Linked DNA regions of Homo sapiens: all the other regions are linked to region 1. The links are contacts of gene promoters, found by promoter capture Hi-C in blood cells and fetal thymus (Javierre and others, 2016). All regions are on one chromosome and are shown on one strand. Each heading gives the region's core, a stretch centred on a gene start or on the middle of the fragment in contact. The rest is flanking DNA. Distances are from core to core; before and after follow the strand shown. Region 1 holds the start of HSPA4L (heat shock protein family A (Hsp70) member 4 like). Region 2 overlaps LARP1B (La ribonucleoprotein 1B). Region 3 holds the start of LARP1B (La ribonucleoprotein 1B).

Region 1 (4,084 bases), core at 1,097-3,596:
CAAGACAAGGATGCTTACCACTACTGTTTATTTTCAAAATTTTACTGGAGCACTTAAGCAACATAATCCAGGCAAAACAATAAGAAACAGAAGAAATAGAAATGAAGAAATTCATTATTTCCCAGGCCATATTGTTCTATACACAGAAAATCCAAGAAATTCTGCAAATACTTGAATTTAGAATACAGCAAGGTTGCTGGATACATGACCAATGTACATGAATCAGGATCATTCAGCAGCTAAGCATAGCTAGCATTTATTGACCGTTTGGTGCCAGGGACTGATGCAGTGCTTACATTATTTAATCATAAAAACAGCCCAGTAGGCATATTTGTCCTCATTTTAACAGACTGAACCTGTGGCTTGGAGCATTAAGTAACTTGCCAAACGTTATACAGGTAGTAAGTTAGGCAAGCCTGGTACTACAACCCAAATCTGTGTGACCCCAAAGCCCGTCATGGTTTTAACCACTGGGTACTCTCACGTCCTGCCAGTAATTGTAAGGAACGTGATGATAACACCACTTTGCTCCTGGCCTCAACTTCCTTTTTACTTTGATATTTTAAGTGGTATTTTTAATAGGAAAAAAAAAAAACATTCTTACACCCTCAAGTTGTATAGACAACATGGATAAACTAATGGAATTAAGATAAATTAATTGTACTAGGAGAATTTCAGGATATTCTGGAATAAATCTAGATAGTGATGGCCGATGTCAGAAGAGGTGTGTGAGGAGAACTGGTGGAAGTCACAGGCGCCCAGCAGGACCAGGGCCCAGGGTTCAGTCGCAGGGCAACGCCCAATCCCTGTTCTGCTCACGAGCTGCCCGCTGGGACGCCGAGTTCTGCGGTGTCTCAGAGCGCAGCTTCACCCAGGGGCTCCACGTCTCCTGAGTGCTCATGAAGGGAAGAGAGGCCTGATTGATTTCTTCAATGTAGAGACCAGAGCCCAAGCAATACTGTACAATCCAGTTGCCTCAGTATTGCCCTTGAAAATGGATTTCACGTTCATTCTAACAGCAGCAGGAACTATAGCCACCCTTGCTGCTGCTGCTGCTGTAGCAACATTATTAATAGTAAAAAATCTAAGTTATTTAAAGAAGTGGACAACTAGGGATAATCAGAATACTAAAGAATCTAGTAAACAAAACAAACAAACAAAAAAACACGCCTGTTTTCAAGATGGATACCAAAATGGAACAGGAAAACACACAAAGAATTGGATGAGAAGGAACAGAGACTAGATGAAGAGGACGGGGAGGAACAGGGAACAGACCAAGGACTGGCAGAGAAGGAACAGGGCACACACGTAAAAGTGAACGAAAAGCAACAAGACAGCCAAATTTCTTAAGTGTAACATAAAACTTGGTTAATTACAGACAGGCAACACATGCCGATCAAACCAAGAGGGAGGGCGCTGGACCACACTGGGCTCTTTTTTGAGGACCACAGGGCAGCGGCTGGAGGCTAAAGCACAGACTTGGCTGGTGTGAGTGGCACACTTAATTAAGGTCACTTTCCTGTAAAACTGGTTTCCAGAGACAAGGGTCAGCGGCGGGGCCAGCATCTTTTAGAAAGGTGTGAGGAAAGGTACGTGGAGGGAAAGTTGTCAGTGTGATCTTATTTCTTGACAGAAGTTTGACTTTTGATATTTCAAATCCTGCTGATGAAAAAAGAAAAAAACCTAACATGTGCTCATCCCGCTTTCGCACAAGAGTCTGTCCCGGGCTCGGCAGCTCCCCCGGGGCTGGACAGGGCGGAGCGGCGGACGTCGGACAATGCGCGCCACCTCACAGAGCCGGGCGCGGCGGGCCTCCAGCCACAAGGGGAGGGCGCCGGGCTGCACATGGGCCCCTCGGGGAGGCGAGGCCTGCGGGCGAGCCCTTCTGAGGGCAGGGGGTGAGGGGGCGGCGCCCGCCAGCCAGGACAGCATCCTGCCGCCGTGACAAGCACGCCTCCGGTTGCCAAAACAACCCAAAAATGTGCCTCAAAACACGTTCGCAAAGCCCCGGGCCGGCCGGTCGCCTGCCTCTCACCTAGCCCGACCGCCCGACGTCCTACTGCCGAGCGAGGGCGAGCAAGCCAATGTGCCTAGCCTCCTTTCCCCGATCCTCCCCGCCCCGCCTTCCCGCTTCTCCCGCCCCCGGATAGCTCAGCAGCCTCCATTTTCCAGATCTTTCTCGAACCCGCAGCTTCTTGGGCAGCCGTTGCCCGAGTGCTGACGGAAGCGGCCGAAGTCCGGGCCCGGAGCTGGCTCGGGCGCGGAGCGGAGGCTCGCGCGCCTCCCGGGCAGCCGAGCGCGCAGGCGCAGGTCCCAGTAACCGCCGGTTGGAGGCGGCCGAACCGCAGTAGGGAAAGACCCAGGCTGCGGGACGCGGTGCAGGCTGCGGCGCTGACGGCCTCTGCTCCTTCCGCGGGTTTCCGACTCCCTGCCCTAGATTTTCTGCTTAGCGACTTGGGGTCCCCTCTCGTTTGCTTCTGGTAGGAGTCGCAATCCCAGCAGCAATAGCCCAGAAGAGGACACGGTTCCCGTACCGAAGGGTTCAGTACCAGCAGCCCGACCATCACGCGGCGGGATGTCTGTGGTTGGCATTGACCTCGGCTTTCTCAACTGCTACATTGCTGTCGCGAGAAGTGGCGGCATCGAGACCATCGCCAATGAGTACAGCGACAGGTGTACCCCGTAAGTGCCTCTGCTGAGCATCACCTCGACCCTAAGAAACGTTTTTCTCTCCCGTCCTTAACGTTTGTCCTGTCTGCTCGCTTCCTCGGATTTTCCCCTAACGTGCGCCGAACCCCGAGATGACAGGTGCAACCCGTCAACCGCAGTCCCTAGAGACCGCCGGGTGGCAGTCGGACTTCCTCGCCCCGCAAAGCTTCTTTTCCTTCAAGGACGAGGGACCGCACTAGTTTGCGCAGCTCTCTTTTCTGTACCTACGCACGTCCCCTGCCTCGTGCCGCTGTCCCCCAACGCCTCTTTTGCTTGCGAGGAAGAGGTTGCTGTGGGACAGCCCCTGGCGTCCGGAATATTGAGAAAGATCTCCGGTTGCCTCTAACGAGGTTTACGTGGGATTATCGGCCCCGCGCCAGCTGCCCTCCTTCCTTTCCCCGTCCCTCTGGGTGACAGCTTTTTCTCAGAAAAGTAAAAAGTCAGCTTCGGCTGCACACGTCAGAGATGAATTGCAGGTTCATCTGGCCCCGAAAGCCTTTTTTTTTTTTTTAAGGGCGGGGAGTGAGGCATGTGGGGTTTTACAAAACCCAGTGCCCTTGAGAACTGCAGGTAATGGAGCCGGTTTACAGGGCCAGGTCAATGGTGCATTGATAGGGAGAGCCTCGGGATGGGAGTCACTGGCCTTGTGCATTGGTAACTACGTCAGTTGCTGGAATGCGGCGGGGTTGGGTCGGACCAAAAGCGTGTTTCTGCAGAGTGAATTGCCGGAGTCGGGGGCAGCTGTCCCGTATAAACATGACTGTGGAGTGATTCTATTATGAACGCTTAATGAAAGGCTTAGGAGGAGCGGCGTTATGTCATGGAAACATGTTTCCACATGTTCCGTTGTTTCTCTGGCCTGGGAAGTTTGTTGGCAAGGAATATAATGAAGTAATTCTGAAATATGAAAAACTAGTTGCTGCTTATAGGCTGCTGTTACTGGTAATTTTATGAGGAAACCAACTGTATGAAACCTATATTACTTTTTATGGAAAGGTAATTTGGCATCTTAATTTGACCGTTCTGAATGGTCCAAAATATAATACCTTAACTATACTAAAACAAGGTCAGTGTCCAATGGTCTTTAAATGCCTCATTTACTATTCTATGGAAAGCTTTAAAATATGGCAAAAAGATGTTGAAGAGTAGCTCACTTGAAGCAGTCTGTGCTTTGATTTCTTTCCAAGAAGATTCTAGAAGGTTTTATACCTTTTTTCGTAGATGTACACGTTTCTTCTATTGAAATTTTAAACGTTTTGGACGTTTATATTTTCAATACATGGGCATAGATAAGGTAATCCTCAATAATGTTTGAACTCTTCTACTTTTTACATCTTTTTCTGGCTTTTATGCACAGTGAGAGGCCGAAACAGTA
Region 2 (4,084 bases), core at 830-3,329, 380 kb after region 1:
CCTTCGATTATTCATTGAGATATATACTTATGATTTGTACACTTCTTGTGTGTGTGTGTGTGTGTATGTTATACATTAATGAATTAGTTAAAAATAAAAATAAACAAAAACATACACAACTTGTGTTTCCATCAGGGTAGAATTGTGTTATTTATCTCTGGCATGTAGTAAACATACAATAATTATTTATAGAATTGGGAGTTGCTAATAGCAAGCTCTGTAGCAAGATAAAGGACAAGAGGAGTGAGCAATGATTCTGATTTAGCCTGAAGAGCTTATTGAAAACTTTTGAGGAAGAAATGTTGATAAATATACATTTTGATGTAATTAAAGGTACTTTAGTGAAAAAAGATCATAATCTAAAAGGCTAACATTGGGATTTAATAAATGGTTTGAGCTGACAAGTGACTTCATCTTTGAAGACAGAAGGAAAAGATTCTTTTGTTATTAAGAGCAAGCTACAACTATTTTGTAATGATATTTAATTTCCTTCCTGTTTTAAATTTGCTTCAACCCGAAAAATTCTTTCTTATGTTTTTTACTTGCTTAAACCCGCTTTGGATGTTGCCCTGTAAAGATTCATGTACCCATTAGTACCATGTGGAGTAGATGTGATATAGGGTTTTATTGGGAAAAACTTAGAAGAAATAGTGGAGTGTAAGCAGTCCCTCAAACTCCTTTTTTATCTCACAGTTTAGGCCAGACATAGAGGGTCTTTATGGTTCACCTGGGTGAACCATAGGGTTCAACCTTTAGGGTTCAACCTTTAAGTTCACCTGTGGCCAAGTGAACTTCCAGTAGAGAATGACCTCTACCCTCTGTAATGCTCCACACATTTGTAGGTCAGGGCCGGAAACACTTAAGTGACTATGCAATAGTAGTTACAAAGGGGAAGCCTCCAGAACCCCAGAGGCAGGGAGGGGTCTATTCTTCCTTTGAGCTAACAACTCAAATATACTGAGTCTCTTTGCTGCAGCTATCCAGGGCCATCCAGATTTATCTTTATCACATGCATCCCATTATTATAAAACAAAGTGAAATCTTCTTGACCCAGTATTAAAGGTCTTCTAGTAGCTTTCTCCAACTTCCTCATCAGTCCTCTTTGCCACTGGTTCTACACAGATTTTCTTAGTCACTTAATTACTTTGTAATAAACACATTGCTTTTTCCAAGCTTCTTATCTTTGCTCTCATTACCTATTTAGAATGTTTCTCCCTTTCTCTAAATTCTCATCCTTCAAGAGGTGCTTTTGTCCCATCTCTCCTGTGATGGCTTCCTGATGATCGTAATTCTTACACCAATATCGCTCTTCACATACTACCTAATATTATTTATTTTTATGTGTTCATTTCTTCCTTTTCATCTAACATATAAATTCCTTAATGGTAGGGAACATGTATTAGATTACTTTGTAACGTCTGTAATACCTGGTAGTCTTGTATGTAAATGCTCAACAAATAATTAATGATTAGTATGTGTGGTCTTATAATGTTTTTTAATTATAAAATCATTATAATATTTTAGGGTGTTATATGCCTCTTAGATTCTGAATGTTGTTATTAAGTATAATGCTAGACTCTTTATTAGAACGTCTTTTTCACTCCATTGTAATTAATCCCTGTTTTAGAAGTTCATTTTTTTGAGGTTGGTATCAATTATTGTCTGTTGGTTACTCTGTTAGCCAGTTTAGTAATTAGATTCCTCCATTCTACTTCAGCAAGAAGTTGAGAACTTTAAGAAGCTAAATCTCATTAGTAAAGAGCAGTTTGAAAACCTAACACCTGAACTTCCTTTTGAGCCAAACCAAGAAGTTCCTGTAGCACCTTCACAGTCCAGGCAAGGTATGTAAATCTGCTTTTGTGTAAGTGTCTGAATAGTATTAAAGCAGTTCTGAATTGTTTTTAAAAATTGCTCCTTTTTTTTCTTTATTTGTGGAAAATCATTAGGTAAATGGTAAAATGCTAGAATTTTAAAACTCAACTTTTATCCTTTTGTGAACTTCTATTATCACACCAGATTATGCTCAAAGCCAGAGGCTTACTTAGAAGTAGGCAGAATTTGTTGGTTCTTTATGTATCTGATGTGATTTTAAGATTGCTGGGAATGTTTCTCTTCCCAAAATAAAATTTTTCACTGACTCACTGATCCTTAGAATGCGCTAGAGTCATTCTTTTGTTTTAAGGGCTTAGCTCTGTGTGAGAGTGTAAATAAATACATTGGGAGATCCATAAATTGAATCTGACATTTCAGACAAGTATAACTGATTTTATTATAGCCTTTTCCTGAAGGTGGTTAAAAAAATGATTTATAAAAAGTCACACATATACAAAGATAGAGTGAATTTTATAATAAAACTCCCATGTACCTGCTATACTTAATCATCTCATACCCAATTTTGTCTCGACTCCAGTAACTCCTATACCTCCCTGTGGATTATTTTTAAACAAATTCTCAATCACATGATTCATATTTTTTTGTCCTTAAAGATTTCTGTATGTGTCTTTAAAAAGATAAGGGCTATATCTTTTAACACATAAATAGCAGGACATTATCATATCTAAAATTAACAGTAATTCCTTAACGTTAGATATCTAGTGTTCAAATTTCCTCATTCATCACTTTTTTTTTCCAGTTTCTTCAAATAGATTGCAATAGATTGATATGTCTTTTTTAGTCTACAGGTTTCTACTATTTTTTGCCTTATAATTTATTGGTCCTTGCAATTTGGTATTGAAGAAACTGGGTTGTTTGTCTTGTAGAATTTTTCACATTCTGAATTTTGCTGATTGCATCCCCATGGTTTCATTTAACCTGTTTTCTAGTCCTGAATTATCTATAACTGTTAGTTCAGCATAGAGACTTGATTAGATTAAGACTCAAATCTCTGTAAGAATATGTCATATGTAGTATTGAATACTATTAGGAGATACATAATGCTCTATTGTCTCTTTTTGTAATGTTAGCAGTCATTGATGATCAGTGAGTGAAGCTTTTATTTTACTAGGGGTTGCAAAATAGTGATGATTCTATTTTTAATCATTACGTCTTACCTTAATAGGTAGAATACTTTTATAAAGAGAACTTTCCCCAGAATATTTATTTATTCTGAGATAGAGTTCTTACAGGAAAGTGAGTCAGTGCTGAATTATTTCCCTTTGTTTACTAGTTTCAAAGTACTAGCTGGTTCCTTAACATTCTTCGCTGGTGACTAATGAAGTTTTTGTTTGTTTGTTTTTAAATGATCATTGTGAACTCATAAATACATGAGATGGGTTTCATTCTATTACAGTTATTATTATTATTATTGATACCTATGCCAGTTATCAGTTTATTGACTTTTAGCTCTAAAGCCACCTTTCATTTTCTTGCTCAGTAATAATGGAGTTGGACTGTTAACTTTAATGTTTCCCACCCCACAGAAGGTTGAGCCCCCACCAAGGTTGAGCTTTGTCAGTACCGGATCTGCTACTCAGTTGGTCCTTGTTTCTAGGCCTTTTGAATAGAAAGAGCTAGGAAATTTTTTAAGGAGAAAAATATATTACGTATTCATGTTGATATTTTCTGTCTAAATTTAAGATTATAGGTTTTAATTTTAATTTCTTTGATTTTGTAGTTGTATTGCTTTTTACTTATATATAAAAAATCTTTCTTCCTAACCACAGTAACATAATTATTTATTTGCTAATCCTATGATATAATAGTTCCAGAATAACAATAACATTAAATAATAATATTATAAATACTGAAAGGTAACTTCTTTTAGAGTTCTTTAAACTGTAAACTTTTAAAAACTTCATACTTTAAAGCTTTCTTTAAAGTTCTTAGTGTGTCCCACTAGGGCTGTTCAGTTAAATTGCTGGATTTTTTGCCTTGTTAAATTTGAATACTTTAAAATTGAGAATGTATATTCCTTTGCACATCATAGAAAGCATACAAGTCACAAATAAGGAGATAAATTTGGCATTGCATGACATTAACAAAGAATTAATATCATAGAAATCTAAAACCTTAAAAATTAATATGAAAAATGGCAAACATGAATAGAAAAAGTAGTAAATGAAACATGAACATCAGTTTCATATTT
Region 3 (4,084 bases), core at 1,085-3,584, 280 kb after region 1:
AGCCTTGGCCTCCCAAAGTGCTGGGATTACAGGCGTGAGCCACCTCGCCTGGCTGATGGCAGTGTTTTGAACCAAATAATTTGTTCTTCCAGACCAGGTGAACACCCTACCCAAGGGCAGATAATCCACAGATTGGCTAATGAATTGTATAATCTGGCTGGAAAAAATAAGTAGGGTCAAGCAGTCTTTTATCCTTAATTTTGAACTATGAAGCAGAGGAAGAGTCTGGCACGTAGCTGCAGAGGCAGAATGAAGTAACAAGATAGAGGTTAATTACAGCAAATTGGGTCAGTCAGATGAAACTAAAATCAGACGGAACGCTCAAATTTTGGAATTTTAAGTTTATTATTAAAAGGACACTTTACAGAGGTGTGAGGCTAGGCGTGGTGGCTCACGCCTGTAATCCCAGCACTTTGAGAGGCCAAGGTGGGGGGATGACTTGAGGCCAGGAGTTCGAGACCAGCCTGGCCAACATGGTGAAACACCGTCTCTACCAAAAATACAAAAATTAGCCGGGTGTGGTGGTGGGCGCCTGTAATCTCAGCTACTCGGGAGGCTGAGGCATGAGAATCGCTTGAACCCGGGAGGCAGAGGTTGCAGTGAGCCGCGATCGCGCCACTGCACTCTAGCTTGGGCGACAGAGAGAGACTACCTCTTAAAAAAAAAAAAATGCCGGGCGCGGTGGCTCATGCCTGTAATCCCAGCACTTTGGGAAGCCGAGGCGGGTGGATCATTTGAGGTCAGGAGTTCAAGACCAGCCTGGCCAACCTGATGAAACCCCGTCTCTACTAAAAATACAAAAATTAGCCGGGTGGTAGTGGCGCGCCTGTAATCCCAGCTACTCAGGAAGCTAAGGCAGGAGCATCTCTTGAGCCTGGGAGGCAGAGGTTGCAGTTAGCCGAGATCACGCCACTGTACTCCAGCCTGGGCAATAGAGTGAGACTCTGTCTCAAACCACCACCACCACCACCATCACCACCACCAATAAAAAATACAAAGCGCCACTAATAACAGAGCTAGTAAAGATGGATGGGAATATAGGTGGAAGTACAATCCCCTTTTAATTGCAACAAGGTTCGCCAGGTTGCTTAGGGTTGGGCAAACTGGAGATCACTGACACGGAAAACAAGAAAACCCTTATTGTTTATAGCTGTTATGTATGAATAGGTTATTAGCCTTAGGAAAATTATTTGTGCCGAATACGGCTTTTGAGTAAGCAAAAAATATTAACGTCAAGTTGAATGTAATTGAAGCGACTTATTGGGCGTGGGGTGGGGGGTGGGGGTTGAAAGCCCAAACATAAGGCGAGCACAGATAATTTATTTAACAAGGCTATGGGGTTGGTGGGGGGCTCGGAAAAAAATCAGCGGCGGAACCTGCTCTCAGCCACCTTGCACCAGGACACAAACACTGACTCAAAAATGAAACGAGTATCATCTCTAAGTGAATGTGAGTGCCAAGTAGAAAGCTCGTATCCGATTTATTATCAAAACGTCTTTGTACCATTTTAACATCCATTCCAGGAAGAAAAAACCTATTGGGAATATGGTTAATTTGTAATTAAGTGCTATTTACCCAAATTAAAGAAACAGGTAACAAAAAATTTTAAAAGCCGGCGAAATACTATTTAATTTACTCAGGAACGCTTTAGAACTCTTTTAGTTGGTGGGTGGGAATGCGGGCGGGGAAGCGCACTAAGCCGAACGCTGGGGCAAAGGTTTCCTAAACAGTTACCGAGAGGTAACTCCCCCTTCATCTGGGACGTGGCTCAAGATTACAGGTGATCGCGGTGCCCCGAGGCGCCAGGAGGCAACTTTCACCTGGGGGAGGCGCCGGGCGCCAGCGGGCCAAGCGGCCGGGCCGCGGAGCCCACTTCACTTGGGAGCTGCCCCAGGCCGGGGGTCGACACCGCGTCCCCTCCCTTAGCCTAGCTGCGACCCAGCTTTAGGGCCTAAGGGCAAATCGAGCGCTCGGTCCTCCCAGCGCCATGTGCGCGGCCCGCCCAGGCCCTTGGCCGCCGTCGCCGCGGGGGCAGGCCGCGAGCCAGCCGCGAGCCACAGAGGCCTGGTGCGCGCTCCGCCCCTGAGCCTGCAGTCGGGGCGGCCTCAGCCAGTGAGCCGGGAGTCGTCCCCTTCGTCCTCCCTCGCACTCGGAGGGCAGCTGGGGCGGGGCAGACCCTCGGGCCGGGCGGCACCCGGGCGGGCGAATCCGTCAGCTCCCGCGGGAGGCCCGGCGAGAGAAGGACCCGGTGAGTAGCCACGTCACGCTCCTCAGGGAGGCCCCGCCCCGTGCTCTCGGGCCGCCCCTCTTCGCCGTCTCCACGCCTCCGCGGGCAGTTACCAGCTTTGGCTGCTCGCGCCTCCCCAACTCGGGTAAAGCTCCTCGGCCTCGGCGTGCTGCGCCTCCGCGGCTGCCCTGCGCCAGGTGAGGGCTCGCGGCTCCCGGCTGCGGCTCCCGGCGCGTGGTGGCGGGCTCGGGGCGTGCGTCGCGGAGAGGACGGGGCCGGCGGGCGGTTGGCGCTCCGTTCGGTGCGGGGAGGGGCGTCACGCCGGGCGCTGCGCGGCCTCGGCGGGCGGCGGCAGCGGCGGCCACGGCCGCCGGGCTCTCGGGTTGTCTGTCCCCAGTTGGAGCCGGCCGGTGTCCCGGCGGAGAGACGGGCAGTCGGGTTCCCTGGCCTCGGGGCCACCCCGGCTGGGGCGGCTGGGGCAGAGGGACGATGTCTACTCGCGCCCCGATGCCCGCCGCCCATTCTCGGGAGGATCCGCCCGCGGTGACTGCTGAGAGGGAGTCGCTGTTGGCCGCGGCGAACCGGCCGGCCGAGCAGCCGCCCCCGCCCGAATGTGAGGGCAAAGAGGCGGCGAGGGAGGAGAGGGCCGCGGCCGCCACTAGCGCTGGGGCGCGGGGAGAGCCGTCGCCGGCGCTGGTGCTGGGACGCAGCGTGCCCCAGGCGGCTGTCCCCGTGAGGCCCCTGGCGCTGCACCTGGCGCACAAGGCGCGTGGGCCCGGGGGCCCTTTCGGCGGGGAGCCGCCACCGCCACCGCCGCCGCCGTCGCCGTTGCCGCCGTTGCTGCGGGATCCGCCGGCCGAGGACGCCCGGGAAGAGGTGGCAGCTGGCCCTGCGGAAAAGCGGCAGCCGCCGCTGCTGCCGCCTAAGGGAAATCCCTGGACCAAAAAGCCTCCCCAGCACCTGTCCCCAGACACGACAGGTCCGCCACCGCCCCCGCTGGAAACCCTGGAGGCAGGTCTGTGGTTGCTCTGCGTTGGGCACTGGCAGGGTGCGGGCAGGGGCGACTTGCGGGACTTGCCGGCGCGTGGCGGCGGTAGCGGGCACCAGGCCCGGGTAACGGCAGGCCTCCCCTCCCTGTCAGTCGGAGGTAATTTGTTCCAAGGTGTCATTCACTCTGCCTATTTACAGACATGGGCATCTGGGAAGGGAGCGGCAGGAAGAGGTGGGACCTCAGGTTCTCCTTGCCTGATGGGGGCACGGAGGTGGTAGCTTGGCGGCGCATCCCTGCTGGCGCGGTTGCGATTGTGTTTTGTCCCCAGTGTTAGTGACTTGGGAAAGTAGCTAACTTTAGATACTGCAGTGCTTCGTATGGGAAAGTTTTGGTAGACTTTTTTTTTTTTTTTTTTACATAAAAGGATTGAAGCAAGTCAGAGCAAGGGGATTTATTCGTAAGTGGAAGCGCGATTGTAGTCTTTTGTGAAATAAGATGAAAAAAGGTTTTCAAAACACTGCTGAGCAGTCATATTAAAAATGAGACTTTAAATGTGGTTTTTAAAGTGCTTTATGGGGGGAGGGGGGAGGGATAGCATTAGGAGATATACCTAATGTTAAATGACGAGTTGATGGGTGCAGCACACCAACATGGCTGCACATGTATACATGTGTAACCTGCACGTTGTGCACATGTACCCTAAAACTTTAAGTATAATTAAAAAAAATAAAGTGCTTTAAGTTATAAGTGTGCTGGAAAATAATTGAAATAGGATAGTTGACATGCGAGCGTGGATTGCACGTTAGGTAAATGGTTTTCTAACATTGTCAGCTCTCCTTCCCTTTAGAGGAGATAAGATTATGCCA

Evidence for each region. Contacts are between HindIII fragments. The CHiCAGO score rates a contact against its expected background, and 5 or more counts as called.
Region 2: a contact is called between a fragment that was not itself captured here and the fragment with the promoter of HSPA4L in region 1, in 1 of 17 cell types (endothelial precursors). The highest score is 5.2, in endothelial precursors.
Region 3: a contact is called between the fragment with the promoter of LARP1B here and the fragment with the promoter of HSPA4L in region 1, in 1 of 17 cell types (megakaryocytes). The highest score is 7.6, in megakaryocytes.

Annotation. Positions count from the first base shown.
Region 1 is chr4:127,779,976-127,784,059 of GRCh38, forward strand. It overlaps HSPA4L (heat shock protein family A (Hsp70) member 4 like), which reads left to right and starts at 2,347. Exons shown (of 19, transcript NM_014278.4): 1 at 2,347-2,682. The coding sequence starts at 2,576. RefSeq lists silencers at 1,708-1,877, 2,158-2,227 and enhancers at 2,368-2,517, 2,417-3,409, 3,018-3,097. The HindIII fragment of the contact is 4,318 bases long and covers 1-2,873 here.
Region 2 is chr4:128,160,477-128,164,560 of GRCh38, forward strand. LARP1B (La ribonucleoprotein 1B) reads left to right here. Exons shown (of 20, transcript NM_018078.4): 12 at 1,718-1,841. Among named protein-coding and RNA genes, the nearest start is that of LARP1B, 100 kb to the left of the region's middle. The HindIII fragment of the contact is 1,816 bases long and covers 1,172-2,987 here.
Region 3 is chr4:128,058,978-128,063,061 of GRCh38, forward strand. It overlaps LARP1B (La ribonucleoprotein 1B), which reads left to right and starts at 2,335. Exons shown (of 20, transcript NM_018078.4): 1 at 2,335-2,424. RefSeq lists enhancers at 1,700-2,558, 2,559-3,417 and a silencer at 1,742-3,241. The HindIII fragment of the contact is 16,596 bases long and covers 1-4,084 here.